Regions from separate parts of the Homo sapiens genome. Here region 1 is linked to region 2. The links are contacts of gene promoters, found by promoter capture Hi-C in blood cells and fetal thymus (Javierre and others, 2016). All regions are on one chromosome and are shown on one strand. The core of a region is centred on a gene start or on the middle of the fragment in contact, and the rest is flanking DNA. Distances in the headings are between cores, read along the strand shown.

Region 1 (7,384 bases), core at 4,660-7,159, 1.1 Mb after region 2:
ACTTAAGTATAAAAGCTTATATAGTCATAAAAATGATAATGCCACAAAGGGATGATAATTACGAGTTGTTACATATATATCTCTTTACCTTGAGATGATTAGCAAATATTACTTTGTGATAATTGTCCTTATAAATTACAGATGTGTTATAACAATCTATTCTATTTGAACACATAACATTAGTAATATTTGCACCAAATTTTTCACATTCCTTTATGCAGCAACAAAATATTTTGCATTGTTATGATAATGTTGTAACTTGTTTTCTAGTAACAGTTTTAAAGACTATTTTGTAGATATATAAATAGCAGAAGTACTTAGAGGAAAAAAACATTTTTTATTTTATTAACTGGCTTATATATATGCAACATACAAAAGAGAGTTGAGGCTACTTAAAATAGAAGTTCAGAGATAATAAGAGACCCAGACAAACAAGACAAGGTGAAAGCAGATACCAGGAAATAATGGAGAAAGGGTGGAGAAAACTAGACCAGGCTTTACCATCTACTCTGTTAAAAAAGCAAGCTTAGCATGAGATAGAATGTTTGCCAATATAGAATTTTTAATCATAAGCATTTATACAACATGTGAATCTGAAAAAAACTAGTTTCCCCATTGATTAAATTTGCAGTGTTCCTAAGTATTCTGAGAATGTAATTTAGAAAATCACCTATAAGGAATTCTCATGGTGAAATAATATAGTGTAACTTTCCACTTGATTAAGTGTTACAGGTGATATGACCTGGAATCAGATGAGACCCTGAGTGAGATGAGGCGGCTTTTTTTCTGTGTCGTTGACTTTCTTGATGTGATTTCAGTGATCAGAACACATCTGCTGTGTGAAACATTTTAAAAAATATATTACAGTATTGTTCTTACGTATATTGCTAAGAAAATAAAGACTAACATGATTGTCTTGTTTATTTCTCATAGAACCAGTTTTTCATAAGCTGTGCTGATGACAAAGTTGTGTTCAACAAGATAGGCGATGCCATTGCCCAGAGGATCCTGAAAGCTCACAGGTAACAGCCTTTGGCTGAGAGTTCTCGCTGCAGATGTTCTTGTATTTATTACTAAAATGACTTTGCAAAGCCCATTTTTAAAGTACTGTCATTTCCTAGCAGCTTAAATTTGGTTCAGCCAGCAATAGGTTATTGATGCCTTTAGTCTGAGTCAGTTGCTAAAGATTTTTGACTGCCCTTTCTAGGGAATTTGAATTCTTCCAAGGCACAAAAATTTCTTCCTGGCCAGTCTGTTTCCCACACATGAGGTTTGTGATTTGTTTTATTTAATAGCAGACTATGAGCTGTGTTCGCTTAAAAAAGCAAAACAGACATAATATTTTGCTATGGGTTATATTTAAATTCTTGTTACCGTATGTCATATTTATTCAGCTCATGGGATTTTTTTTTTAATAATTGGTTTGCTGAGATAGAATTTACATACTGTATAATCCAGCCACTTAAACTATACAATTCAGTGATTTTTAGTGTATTCACAGAGTTGCACAACCACCACCTAATCAATTTTAGAACATTTTCATCCACTCAGAAAGAAACCCCATTAGCAGTCATTACCCATTCCTTCTATTTTTAGCCTCTGGCTACCACTGATTTTTCTTTTTCTATAGATTTGCCTAATCTGGGCATTTTGTATAAATGGAGTCACACAATATGGGGTCTTTTATGACTGATTTGTCTTAGCATAATGTTCTTGAAGCTTATCTATTATTATAGCATGTATCAGTATTTCATTTCTTTTTATTGCCAGATAATATTCCATGATGTGGATATACCACATTGTATTTATCCATTCATTAGTTGATGGACATTTGGGTTGTTTCTACTTTTTGCCTATTATAAATAATGCTGCTATAAACATCCTTTACTAGTTTTTGTGCAGATATATATTTTCATTTCTCTAGGGGTAGAATTGTCAGGTTATAGCTAACTCTATGTTTAACATTTTGAGGAACTGCCAGACTGTCTTCCAAAGCGGCTCTGCCATTTTATATTCCCATAGTATATGAGAGGTCCAGTTTCTCTGTATTTGCCAATACTTATTATTATCTCTCTCTTTGATTATAGTCATTCTAGTAGGTGTGAAATACCATTTAAGAAATGGTATTTCATTGTGATTTTCATTTGAATTTCTCTAATGACTAATGATACTGAGCATCTTTGTGTGTGCTTATTGGCCATTTGTGTATTATCTATGGAGAAATGTCTACTGAAATCCCTTGCCCATTTGTTCACTGGGGTATTTGACTTTTTATTTTTGAGTTGTAAGAATTCTTTATACATTCTAGATACAAGTCTCATATCAGATATATGATTCCTAGTTTCTCCCATTCGATGGCTTGTCTTTTTACTTTCTTGCTGGTGTCATTTGAAACAGAAATTTTTTTTATTTTGATAAAAGCTAACTTATCTATTTTTTTCCTTGTATCGCTTGTCCTTTTGGTATCTAAGGAATATAGATAGTGATATCTAAGAAATCACTGCCTGATCTAGGATCATGAAGATTTATGCCTGTTTTCTCCTGGGAATTTTATAGTGTTAGCTCCTACATTTAGATATTTGACTCATTTTGTTACTTTTTATATATGGGGTGAGTTAGGGGCCCAACTTTTTATTCTTTTGTTGATGGATATAGAGTTGCCCTAGCACCATTTGTTAAAAAGACTATTCTTTCCACATTGAATTGTCTTGGCACCAGGGACAATTTCTTCTTATGGCTGATTTCAGCTCCATTTAAAAGTAGCAGAACAAACACATAAGCAAAACCATTATATTTCATTACTTTAAGTCATTGAATGCACGCAGTGAAGAATAAGTGCATATGCATTTGGGAATTAAAACACTTTTTACTTCCAGTGTCATGTGGTACTTTGATATCTTTTTTCACATAATATTTGGGGACTTTTATACTTAAGGACATATTATAACAGTAACTATCAGCATTTTATGTGATTCACAGTTTATAACTACATTATCTCACTGAATCTTCACAACTACACTTGAGAGTAGGTCATGTATTTGTTGTTGTTATTGTTGTTATTATTGCTGTTGTTGCTGTTCCCATTTTTAGGATTAAAAACTGAGATTCAAGAGGTTATGTGACTTGTCTAGGCCACTAACCACAATAGGCAAAAAACAGCTTTGAGCCTAAATCTTTGGACTTTCAACCCAATGCTTCCCCTCACACCACATGACTCTAGTGCATTGATGGTTAGGATTAAAAACCCATTCAGGGCTTCCCCAAGCTGAGGCAAATGTGTTGGGCCTGTAGTTCCCTTCCCCTATTGACCAGCCATTGGATGCAGGCTGACCCTAGGGAGTGGGGATGACCTTGAGTGAGGCAAGTCCCTTTCACCTATGGAGGACTCCATACTTTTCATACCTGGAGGACTTCACTGTGAGTATTCCGTGGCCTACATGCTCAGTAGCTGATGGGATGGATGTCTTGATCCCATGGTGAGGGGATCTAGGCAGCACACTACAGCATCCATCATATCCTGCAGTGTGTACAGTGGATCTCACCTGTGACTACACATCAAAATCACCACTGACTTTTGCAAGATTACAGAGAGCTTGACTCACCTCCAGGCTTACTGGATCATAATTTCCTGGATCGGGGCCTGGCCCCGGTATTTTATACTGTTCCAAAGATGTGTTTTTAAGTGTTTGGAAGCCTGAAAGAATATTTTTCTTTACTGTAGTAATTTGTCTTTAAAAATCTGGACTTCTAAAATAATAAAATTAGGCTGGGCATGGTGGCTCACGCCTGTAATCCCAGCACTTTGGGAGGCTGAGGCGGGTGGATCACCTGAGGTCAGGAGTTTGAGACCAGTCTGACCAGTGTGGTGAAACTCTGTCTCTACTAATAGTACAAAAATTAGCTGGGCTTGGTGGTGCATGACTGTAGTCCCAGCTGTTCAGGTGGCTGCGGTAGGAGAACTGCTTGAACCCAGGAGGTGGAGATTGCAGTGAGCTGAGATCATGCCATTGCACTCCAGCCTGGGTGACAGACCAAGACTCTGTCTCAAAATAAATAAATAAATAAATAAATAAATAAAATTATAGTATTTTAGGGCTACAAGAAACTTCAAGATATTTTCTGATAGAACATTTCCTAGTGATCTTATGAGCTGCTCCTGAAAGGAAAAGGGATCTGTGACTTTAAAAATTATGGTAAAGTAGCACCTGTTGCAGATTGTATCTTACACTTGGAGTTTGACAGAGCACATTAAAGACTGGCAATTTCAAGTTTGCTTTGTGAAAAATGGGAAATTAGTTCATCAAATTTCAAATAAACCTGTGTCATTTAGCTCTGATCTCTCAATAGTCTCATTTTTTTGACAGACACATTTTCAAAATGGTACATATGTCACACATTTAGACTTTCAGTGGATACACACACACATTCTCAAAACATATTTTATGTTCCCCTCACCCCTGGCGTCTCTGCATTCTTGTTAATCTCCCTATGTTAATTGCAACTGTAAAATATATTTTCACTTAATTTCAAATCTGTGAGCTTGTGTTCTGTGAGCTTGTGTTAGGCAAGGTAAAGGCAGAATTAAAAAGCTTATCTTGGGCAGGTGTGGTGGCTCACACCTGTAATCCCAGCACTTTGGGAGGCGGAGGCGGGAGGATTTCTAAAGGCTAGAAATTTGAGACCACCTGTCTTTACAAAAAAATAAAAAATTATCCAGATGTTTTGGTGTGCCTGTAGTTCTAGCTACTTGGAGGCTGAGGCAAGAGGATTCCTTAAGCCTGAGAGTATGAGGCTGCAGTGAACTATAATCTCACCACTACACTCCAGCTTAGGAGATAGAATGAGGCCTCATCTCTAAAAAAATAAATAAATAAAAAATGAAAGAAACAACATATTTTGCAGGTTGCCACCCTGGGGTGACCCCTTTTCACTAATTAGGTGCCATGATGTGCCATCCCAAACTTACCCCTCTCTCTCCATAGACTTCTCTGGTCTCTACTTTTCTGAGACTCAGAACTTCCCTGCCAAAGTCACATTCTTAGCAACAAGTATAATTTTGGCTATTTGAAAAAGAATAGAATGCAGCCCAAAGCAGATGGAGGGAAATGACAGTCCGCAGTCAGCCAGGCCTCACCAAAGAATACAGGCCCTCTGCCAGGTCCCTCCTACCCTGGAGAAATCTGAGTCTTCAAATTGCCAACTCCCTGGACTGGTCTAAGTATTTTTCTGCCAGCGTTGGAATCCAGCCTCACAACAATTCCCCTAAGCAATTTCTCAGTTCCTCTCACTTCCTCTGGTTCCTTCTCAACAGCCATAATTCTTTATAGAAATAAGTTTTGCAAAGCCTTCATGTTCTGACATGACCTAGAGCCTCAGACTCATGTTTACCCCATGCTGACCTCAGAACAGCCGGGGGAATCAGAATAAAAAAAAAACAAAAAACAAATCTTCACTCTAATAAGTAAAACTGTCTCAGAGTTGAAGCCAGCTGCCCAACCCACTTGAAACCTTTCTTTGACAGCTCAAATGTGATTGGCGATCAGAGAGAAAAAAAATCATAATCCACAGTCTAAAATTTACTGTTTTATGCCATGTTTGACTAAGCCAAAAGATAGGACCAACTGATCCAGGTAGACACATTTTTAAACACTGTGTGCCATGAATGAATGGTTTCTGAGGAGATTCTCAGATCTTTGCACATGGAAACTTGACATGCATAATTTTTCTGCTTTGGTAGAAAGTCAGGAAGTGAGAAAGTGCATTTTATAGTGTTAGCAACAAACAGTTGACACACACAATGAAAATAGTCAGTTGACTTAATGCTTCTATGTTTTAATATTAAACTGCATTAAAAATATGCTATTAAACTACATTAAAACAACAATTTTGAACATTGTTCAAACTTACCATGTTCTTTTTTTTTTTTTTTTTTTTGAGACAGTCTTGCTCTGTCACCCAAGCTGAAGTGCAGTGGTGTGATCTTGGCTTACTGCAACCTCCATCTCCCGGGTTCAAGCAATTCTCCTGCCTCAGCCTCCCGAGTATCTGGGATTACAGGCACCCGCCACCACACTCAGCTAATTTTTTTGTATTTTTGGTGGAGACGGGGTTTCACCATGTCGGCCAGGCTAGCTTTGAACTCCTAACCTCAAGTGATCCGCCCACCTCGGCCTCCCAAAGTGCCCCTCATGCTTCTTATAACTGTAGAAGAGCTACTGCTTGCCTGTAAGTGGGTGGTATGGGAAATACCACACTGGGAAATCTGAAATTATTGGGGGACCAGATGTCTGGAGACCTGGATTCTCTCCAGCTCTGTTATCCACAGGTATGTGACCTTCTGAGTACGTCAGTTTGTCCTTCTGACACGCTGTTTCTTCACCAACCACGAATAATATTATCTGTTCTACGTAGCTTATATGAATATATGTGAAAGTAGTTTGTAAGCTGTAAAGCACCAGTTCATGTAAGAACTTATTATAGCATTTCCATGATATTCATCATCTGGAAATATGTTGTTCACTGTAAATTGAAGCAAGGATAAAGAGGCATCATATTCAAATCAGCTGTTTCAAAATTAGTATTTATGCTAGAAAAAGAAATGTTTTAATTTAAAAGATGCTTAAATGTTCCGTATTTTAAATTATTGGACGGCTACTTCTGGATAAGAAAAATTTGTTTTGGTTTCTCACGACTGGCTGTTGTTCATCATGTGACTTGTTTAGGCACACGATTACAACACTCTGTCTAGAGGTTTGCTGCCAGAAACCTATAGCTGACTCTTCCTGGGAATCAATTTTTGATTTCCCTGTTATTGATCTGATAACACTCTCCCCAAAATATAAAGTAAAACAAAATGTATTCTGAAGCATAATATGTGTTTAGTTTAGTATTGTTTTAATTTTAGATGCTATTTACTTTGTTGTTATTTGAAGATATGCAAGCCTTCTAATTGAAATCAGCAATTGATATAATTGAATAAAAATGTTACCAAATAGTTTCTGAGTCTTTCCACATAATCAGTGCTATACCTGTGTTACCTCATTCAGTCTTTGTATCAACTTTATGGGATTGGTTGTGTAATTACTCCCATTCTACAGATGAGGCAGCTGAGGCCTAGTGAAATTAGATAACTTAGCCAAGTCATACAGCTATGGTTGGATAGGAGTAGGACTCAAACCATGTCTGTAGGACCTCAACTTGTGCTTTTTACCAGTAAGCTACAAAGCTTCCCCCATTTCAAGGGATGTAGAAATTTTCGAATGGTAAGCCTCCCAGAAATCTATGAAAAATACTTTATTTTGAAATATAAAAAATTGAATGAGCTGGGCACTGTGGCTTATGCCTTTGATTCTAGCACTTTGGGAGGCCGAGGCAGGAAGATCAC
Region 2 (7,288 bases), core at 350-2,849:
CAAGGTCAGGAGTTTGAGACCAGCCTGGCCAGCATGGTGAAACCCCATCTCTACTAAAAATACAAAAATCAGCCAGGTGTGGTGGTGGGCACCTGTAATCCCACCTACTGAGGAGGCTGAGGCAAGAGAATTGCTTGAACCCAGGAGGTGGAGGTTGCAGTGAGCTGAGATCGTGCCATTGCACTCTAGCCTGGGCGAAAAGAGCAAGACTCCGTCTCAAAAAAAACAAAAAACAAACACCAAAAACAAACAAAACAAAAAAAAAAGAGAGAGAGAACTTGCTTGAAATACCATGAAAGTGTGCCCTTCTTATCAGTTTTCCTTCAATGTTGAAGAAGAAGCCAACTGTTTCCTAAAAATCTCATTATCAGAACCAAATTTATGGTTATTTCACTTCTATTAATTTGATTAAATTAAAATTACCATCTTAAGATGCATAATTATATATACTAGGTGTTTTAAGACCTTCATCAATAAGTTTGGAGTTGTCATCCTACCACTTTCTTGAAACAGGTCTTCTAACTGTTTTCCTTCTGGATTTCTGGTTGAAATTTTGCTAGTGAAGTTTTCTCTCTCCCATTCAGTACTCACCCACCCCTCCTCACCCCCAATCATTAACAAGAAATCTGGGTTTAAGTGTATTTCTGCTACCATTGACTCACTGAAAGAATTTTTCAGGTGATATCCACACGTTTCTCCAATAAAAAGTTATTATTTTTTCCCTTTGTAGTAATTTGTGGAGAGATCTTCTGATGAAGGACCAAAATTCTGTGTCAAATTTTTACCCTCTAGTTTTAGCATTCATTTATGATTTTCTATGGATACTAGCTGGCATTCTATTTTAAGAAAAGCCTTTCTTCTTTCCTCATTTATTTATATTAATATAGATTGTTGAGTTTTATTTTAATCAATGGGTTATCCATTATGATGATTTATATTGATGGTAAAATTATCCCAGCTTCAGCCACTGGGAGACCCTTCAAGCTGGCAGCTGTGGACCTTTGACCAGTTCCTATCATTTTTTGAGCACTTCCGCATCTCTGGCACAACAGGTTCATCTTGTACTTTACAGCCCCAGCCCTGGTATCAGCCTTTTCTCCAGAGGTTGTGTCAAAAAGCCGTGGTTCCTCTTATTGGAGCATAGGATTTAGAAACCAAGACTTGGGTGCTAGATGTACTACTGGCCTTTCATTGCTTGAGCCAGAAGAATTTAATATCTTCTTTTGCCATATATCAGCTAGAACTTACAAACCACTCCAAGTCTGGCTCCAGAAAACAGAATTTTTATATCCTTTCTCAGTACTCTGAGTCAGAATGACCCACTTGCTTTGTCCAGAGACTCGTCACACTGAAACTATTTTCCGTTTGAGACCTTCCAGGAGGAAAGCCATCCTCACACGCATGCAGTACAAACCAGTGTCCTCCAGAGTCCGCTGTGCCTACGGCCAGAGCAGCGACAGAGCCTTCCTCAAACCTGTAGTGACTGCCACACTTTGCAAGGACACCGTAGAGGGGGCATGTCCGCGCTCCAACTTCCTCCCGACGCAGCCTCTGATTGGCTCCTGGGCTTATAAGAAACGCGTGAATGAGCAGCTGCCGCGGGCAGAAAGTTGCCGGAGGTCTCCGGGTGGTATCGCCCTTTCCTCTTTGCCAGCCCGCTGGCGAGCCGAGCCAGGGCAAGATGAGGTCGTCCTGTGTCCTGCTCACCGCCCTGGTGGCGCTGGCCGCCTATTACGTCTACATCCCGCTGCCTGGCTCCGTGTCCGACCCCTGGAAGCTGATGCTGCTGGACGCCACTTTCCGGGGTGCACAGCAAGTGGTGAGGTGCAGCCCAGCGCTGCTTCTCTCTTCCTCCTCTTACGCAATATTTGAAGGGGATACAAAATTCCTCCGCCGGGTTCCACGAAAACGCAGGTTTTTCCTAATGCATTGAGGCTGTCGCTTTTTGAGGTGGTCCAGTCGGGAATTTTCAGGGTATCGCATTCGCCTCCTTGCTAGCAGCGGGCTAGATCTGCATTTCCCCGTCTGCGTTTGTGACGGGGAAGAAGTGCTTGAATAGAATTTGACAACTGTTTAAACCTTCGTCTGTCCTAAATATCTTCCTCTTCCTTGGTTTGCAACGTCAAAAGGCAAATCCTTAAGCAGTTTATAAACCACCCTTCTTCACACTGTCGTTCTCCCATAGGGACCGGCAGAGGATAAATATTTTTAGGAGAGCTCGGGAAAAGCAGGCTCTGGTTCCTGGGAATGCAGCCACCTTAGAAGCAGAAGCAGGCAAGGGCAGTCTCGCAATGTCCCCAGGCTGTGGAGCGCTCCGTTCCCGGAGACAGCAGGCAGGGCTCTCCATCCAAGCACTTGAGGAACCATAGGGATCTCTCGTTTCACCCGAGGCAGATCTCAGCTCAGCCCAAGAAAGAGGACTGGGAGGCTGGGCTGGCTGAAAGGAGGTGAGGAGGCGGCAGCCCTGGTTTGCATGATGCATGTTTTCTGCTTGCCCTGCAGCATTTATTTTATGTCCTTGGCTGTCAGATAACCTTTTCCTGAGCGAGGTTACCTGCCTTAACCTGGGAGGGTAACATTTCTCTCCACTGTATCATGGGCGTGTGTTCATTCCTTCCATACACAGGAAAATATAACTGTCTCTGGTTTATTCCATGGTAAGAGGCATTATTTTTAGTGTCAGAGAATCTAAAATCTAAACTACAGTCTGCAGCCAAGGCTGAGCCCTCTGATTGGACAGTATTTCTGAGCAGCCTGCTCTATCTAAACTCTAACCTTCTCCAAAACCAAGCCTCCTCCCTCCCCACAACCTTGGGCTTTAATCTCAGAATATTTTTATAAACTCTTTCTTTCAGAAATGACAACTAGAGAAAGAGAAAAAAAATCATTTCAACCTGAGAAAGCTGATTTTAAAAAAGTCATGATTTTCCCAGAGGGTTTATGTTCCTGTTCCCTGTCCACTCATTATGTGTAGGATTACATAATCTGTGGGGCTTTATCCTATGAAAAGTCCCCTTACTAGGATATTGCAGCACATTCCTAGCGTGGATTTGCTTTTCCTGAATTCAGCCACATTCTCACCTCCAAAGCCCCTTTTGTCTCTTAGGAAAGGTCTATGAAGCTATAGACCCCTGCCCCCCTTCTTTTCCTCTTGCTTCCTATAATGTTGACATGGTGAAAATGATCATCCCCTTCTTTAGCACTGGTGTCAAGAAAGTCAGTCTTGTTGTAGGAAGCCTTGCATTCCCTCTCCTCCCCCATGAAATTATGTAATTTGAAAGTAATACCCTTCAAAGATTGAGGAACAGTGATGTTTACCTGGGTGGGTTAATGGTCTACTACAATAACTTAAACAGAGGAAAACAGGAAAAAGATCAAACTGCTGTGTTGGCTGCAGAGATTATTCTTAGTTTTCAGGTCACCAAAGAAGTCTTCTCCATCATAAGTTAATCTCGGACAAGCTAGGTTTGGAGAAAAGCTTTTCTTTCCCAGCTAGGCTTGCCAGCCCATTAAGGACAAGGCTGTGTAAGGTCCTCCACAGAGTATACCCTCAGGTGGTGCTTGGGAATGATAGTGGGTGTAACCTGAAGTCAGCAATAGATGAGGTAACCAGTGTTCTCACCTGACACTGTGGCTCAGGAGTGGATTTGCAGAAAAATGGCTCTTATCACTTCTCCTCTAAATTGTGAAATATCAGAAAGATCATTATGATCAGATGGAAACATATTCTACCCAATAAAGCAATTTTCCAGTGTCACCTCAAATCTTCCTGAGTTTTCCCTGTAAAATAGGGCAAAAAACTACCTTGTAGGTTTGCTATAAGGTTTAGTAATGTATTTAAGTGCCTGGTACTTGTAGTGAGTCTTCTAGTTGTCCCCAAGGGTCCATTGTGGATTGTGGGAACATCTATAAGAATGCTTACCTTTTTTGAAGCAATAAAATAAATGTAAACTGGAAGTAATTTATGTGATTGAAACCTGGAGTGCTACTACTAAATTACCTGGTGTCATGGCCTGGGGCGGTGGCTCACGCTGTAATCCCAGCACTTTGGGAGGCCGAGGCGGGTGGATCACGAGGTCAGGAGTTCGAGACCAGCAGCCTGGCCAACATAGTGAAACCTCTTTCTACTAAAAATACAAAAAATTAGCCAGGGCTGGTGGCAGGTGCCTGTAGTCCCAGCTACTTGGGAGGCTGAGGCAGGAGAATCGCTTGAACCTGGGAGGCGGAGGTTGCGTTGAGTCGAGATTGTGCCACTGCACTCCAGCCTGGGCAACAAGAGTGAAACTCTGTCTCAAAAAAATATATAAATAAATAAATTGCATGGTGTCAACCTCGTTACTCAGATAATTTTAGTTTGAGTTGATTGGCTCAACTACAAAAGCAATTTAAGCTGTTTGAGAGATTAAGCTCAGCCTATTTCCTAAGACAGCATCAGCTGCCTACCATTAAGAAATGTGAATGTTAGTTTATTCTGTTGTCATTGGCAAATACTTTATGCTTTAGCATTTTTTATGTCCTTTATCTTGTGCAGTGAGTCAGACTATTGAGATTATGTTCATTGTGCTTTTTTTCCTTGGGGTTCCCCATATTCCTTAAGAAGCAGCTACTTAGGATCTCTCTGACTCCTCTCAAACACAGATGCTATGTCAGAATCACCTAAGAACTGTTTAAAACAAACCAAACCAAAACAAAACACTTGATGCCCAGGTTACACCACATACCAAACTTACTTAGAATCTCTGGGAGATGAACGTTCTTAGCAGTGTTTAAGAAAAGTTCCAGCCGGGCGCGGTGGCTCACGCCTGTAATCCCAGCACTTTGGGAGGCCGAGGCGGGCGGATCACGAGGTCAGGAGATCAAGACCATCCTGGCTAATACGGTGAAACCTCGTCTCTACTAAAAATACAAAAAAATTAGCTGGGCGTGGTGGCAGGCTCCTGTAGTCCCGGCTACTCGGGAGGCTGAGGCAGGAGAATGGCGTGAACCCGGGAGGTGGAGCTTGCAGTGGGCCGAGATCAGGCCACTGCACTCCAGCCTGGGCAACAGTGTGAGACTCCGTCTCAAAAAAATAATAATAATAAAAATAAAAAACGAAAAGTTCCCCAGATGATCTTCATTGCAGCAAAACTTGAGAACCACTGCTCTATAAGATAAAAGGCATTGCTGTTGTAGACAATATATTTTCCTTAAACTGCGTGTTATATTGCATACGTGTTGCTGGAAATGAGCCCTTTTACATTAGCATGGATTAGTTTATCAGATTAGTTGACACTTTGGCCCTAAGGGGATAAAATACTAGCTAGGCAAATTTCTGTGTTATAGCAAAGCCACCATAAGACTTGAGCAGTGGAAAAGCACAAACAAAAGTAGGTCTGAGAAGGGCAGAGGTGTAATTTAGATGATCAGGCAGCAGGAGACTAGAGGAACAAAAGAAGAGAGTTTGGGGAAGTCCTGAAGGCTGATTTCCAAATGCTATGCAGACAAAGATTTTTTTTTTTAAATGGTAATCTCAGTGCAGGTTAAAATACTAAGTGTACACTGCTGGAGAAAATGTATGTTAGAACCACGTTTTTGGAGAACAGTTTGGCAATATCCATCAAAGCCTTATAAGTGTGTTTATTTTTTGACCCCGTAATCCCTCTAGATGGAATTTATGGTAAGTAATGATGGATATAGGCAAACCTCTAGCTATAAAGATGGAAACATTTTACAGGATTAAAAAACTTGTTCATCAGCACCGTAAGACAAAGAAAAAAAACAAAAACTTGTTGAACTTGTCTAAAAGCACTGCCACTTATAATAAACGTGAAGTAAAATCGAGCAATCTTTTTTTCTTTTATTTGCAGCACCATTTAAACGAATGAAGGTCGGGTGTGGTGGCTCATGCCTGTAATCCTAGCACTGTGGGAGGTCGAGGCGGGCGGGTTACCTGAGGTCAGGAGTTCAAGACCAGCCTGGCCAACATGGTGAAACCCCGTCTCTACTAAAAAATACAAAAAATTAGCCGGGTGCAGTGGTGCGCGCCTGTAATTCCAGCTACTTGGGAGGCTGAGGCAGAAGAATCGCTTGAACCAGGGAGGTGGAGGTTTCAGTGAGCCGAGATGGTGCCACTGCACTCTAGCCTGGGCTACAGTGAGACTTCGTCTCAAAAAAAAAAAAAAAAAAAGAAAAATGTAAGAACAGTAAAAGATTAAATAATGGTAAATTCATATTTGGGAATACTAGGCAGTTAAAAAAATTTAGGTTGTAAAATGTTTAATGACTTGCAAAAGATTTGTACCATGTGTTAAGCAGGAAAAGGCTACAAAATAGATCATACACTATTTATATATCAAAACATGTATCTATGTTTGTATAGAAAAAGCAGAAAGATATAATTTAAAACATGATTTTTTTCTTCTGGGCCATAAAGTTGTATCTTCAGTTTTCGTATTGGTGTATTCTAGATTTTCTACAATGAACATGTAGTAATAAATTATTTTAAAGCTTTTTTTAATCCAGGCATGGTAGCTCATGCCTGTAACCCCAGCACTTTGGGAGACTGTTGTGCCAAACCCCCATTAACCTCAGTAGTGAAGGCACCAGGTTGAAGAGGCTGAAGAAGATTCCCAGAGCCTGCAAACAAGACATGGGTTTTTTTTTTTTTTTTTTTTTTGGTTGTTGTTGTTGAGATGGAGTCTCACTGTGTCACCCAGGCTGGAGTGCAGTGGCGTGATCTCAGCTCACTGCAACCTCCACCTCCTGGTTTCAAGTGATTCTCGTGCCTCAGCCTCCTGAGTAGCTGGGATTACAGGTGCCCGCCACCATGCCTGGCTAATTGTTGTATTTTTTAGTAAGGACAGAGTTTCACCATGTTGGTCAGGCTGGTTTTGAACTCCTGACCTCAGGTGATCCACCAGCCTTGGCCTCTTAAAATGTTGGGATTACAGGCGTGAGCCACCGTGCCCAGCCAAAAATAGGGTTTTATTAGGGGCTTGCATACAAGGGAAAGAGTCCAGTGGTGGTGGGCTGGACAGAAGAACCACTTTATATATAGAAAAGGGGCATTGGCAGGAGGCTGGACAACATATCTGTCTTTCTACAGTCCAGTGGTGGCAGGCAGGGCAGGAAAATCACAACTGCCTACAAACATGTAGTTTACATAGCATTGTCACTTGACGTCTTCCCCCTAATGACTTCCACCTGGCAACCTTCATTTAACCCAAAACTCAGGGCCTCAATCCCCTGTACATCCCATGTTACATGATGGGCGGTGCTCACATGTTTATCATAGATAAAGAACAAATCA

What was found. The method cuts DNA at HindIII sites, captures the fragments that hold promoters and counts their contacts. A CHiCAGO score of 5 or more calls a contact.
Region 1: a fragment that was not itself captured here is called in contact with the fragment with the promoter of NCEH1 in region 2 in 1 of 17 cell types (neutrophils); the score reaches 6.3 in neutrophils.

What each region holds. Positions count from the first base shown.
Region 1 is chr3:171,652,851-171,660,234 of GRCh38, reverse strand. PLD1 (phospholipase D1) reads left to right here. Exons shown (of 27, transcript NM_002662.5): 21 at 934-1,022. Among named protein-coding and RNA genes, the nearest start is that of PLD1, 150 kb to the left of the region's middle. The HindIII fragment of the contact is 2,636 bases long and covers 4,592-7,227 here.
Region 2 is chr3:172,705,378-172,712,665 of GRCh38, reverse strand. NCEH1 (neutral cholesterol ester hydrolase 1) reads left to right here and starts at 1,599. Exons shown (of 5, transcript NM_020792.6): 1 at 1,599-1,819. The coding sequence starts at 1,682. RefSeq lists enhancers at 1,149-1,288, 1,333-1,627, 1,549-1,818, 948-2,147. The HindIII fragment of the contact is 17,687 bases long and covers 1-3,480 here.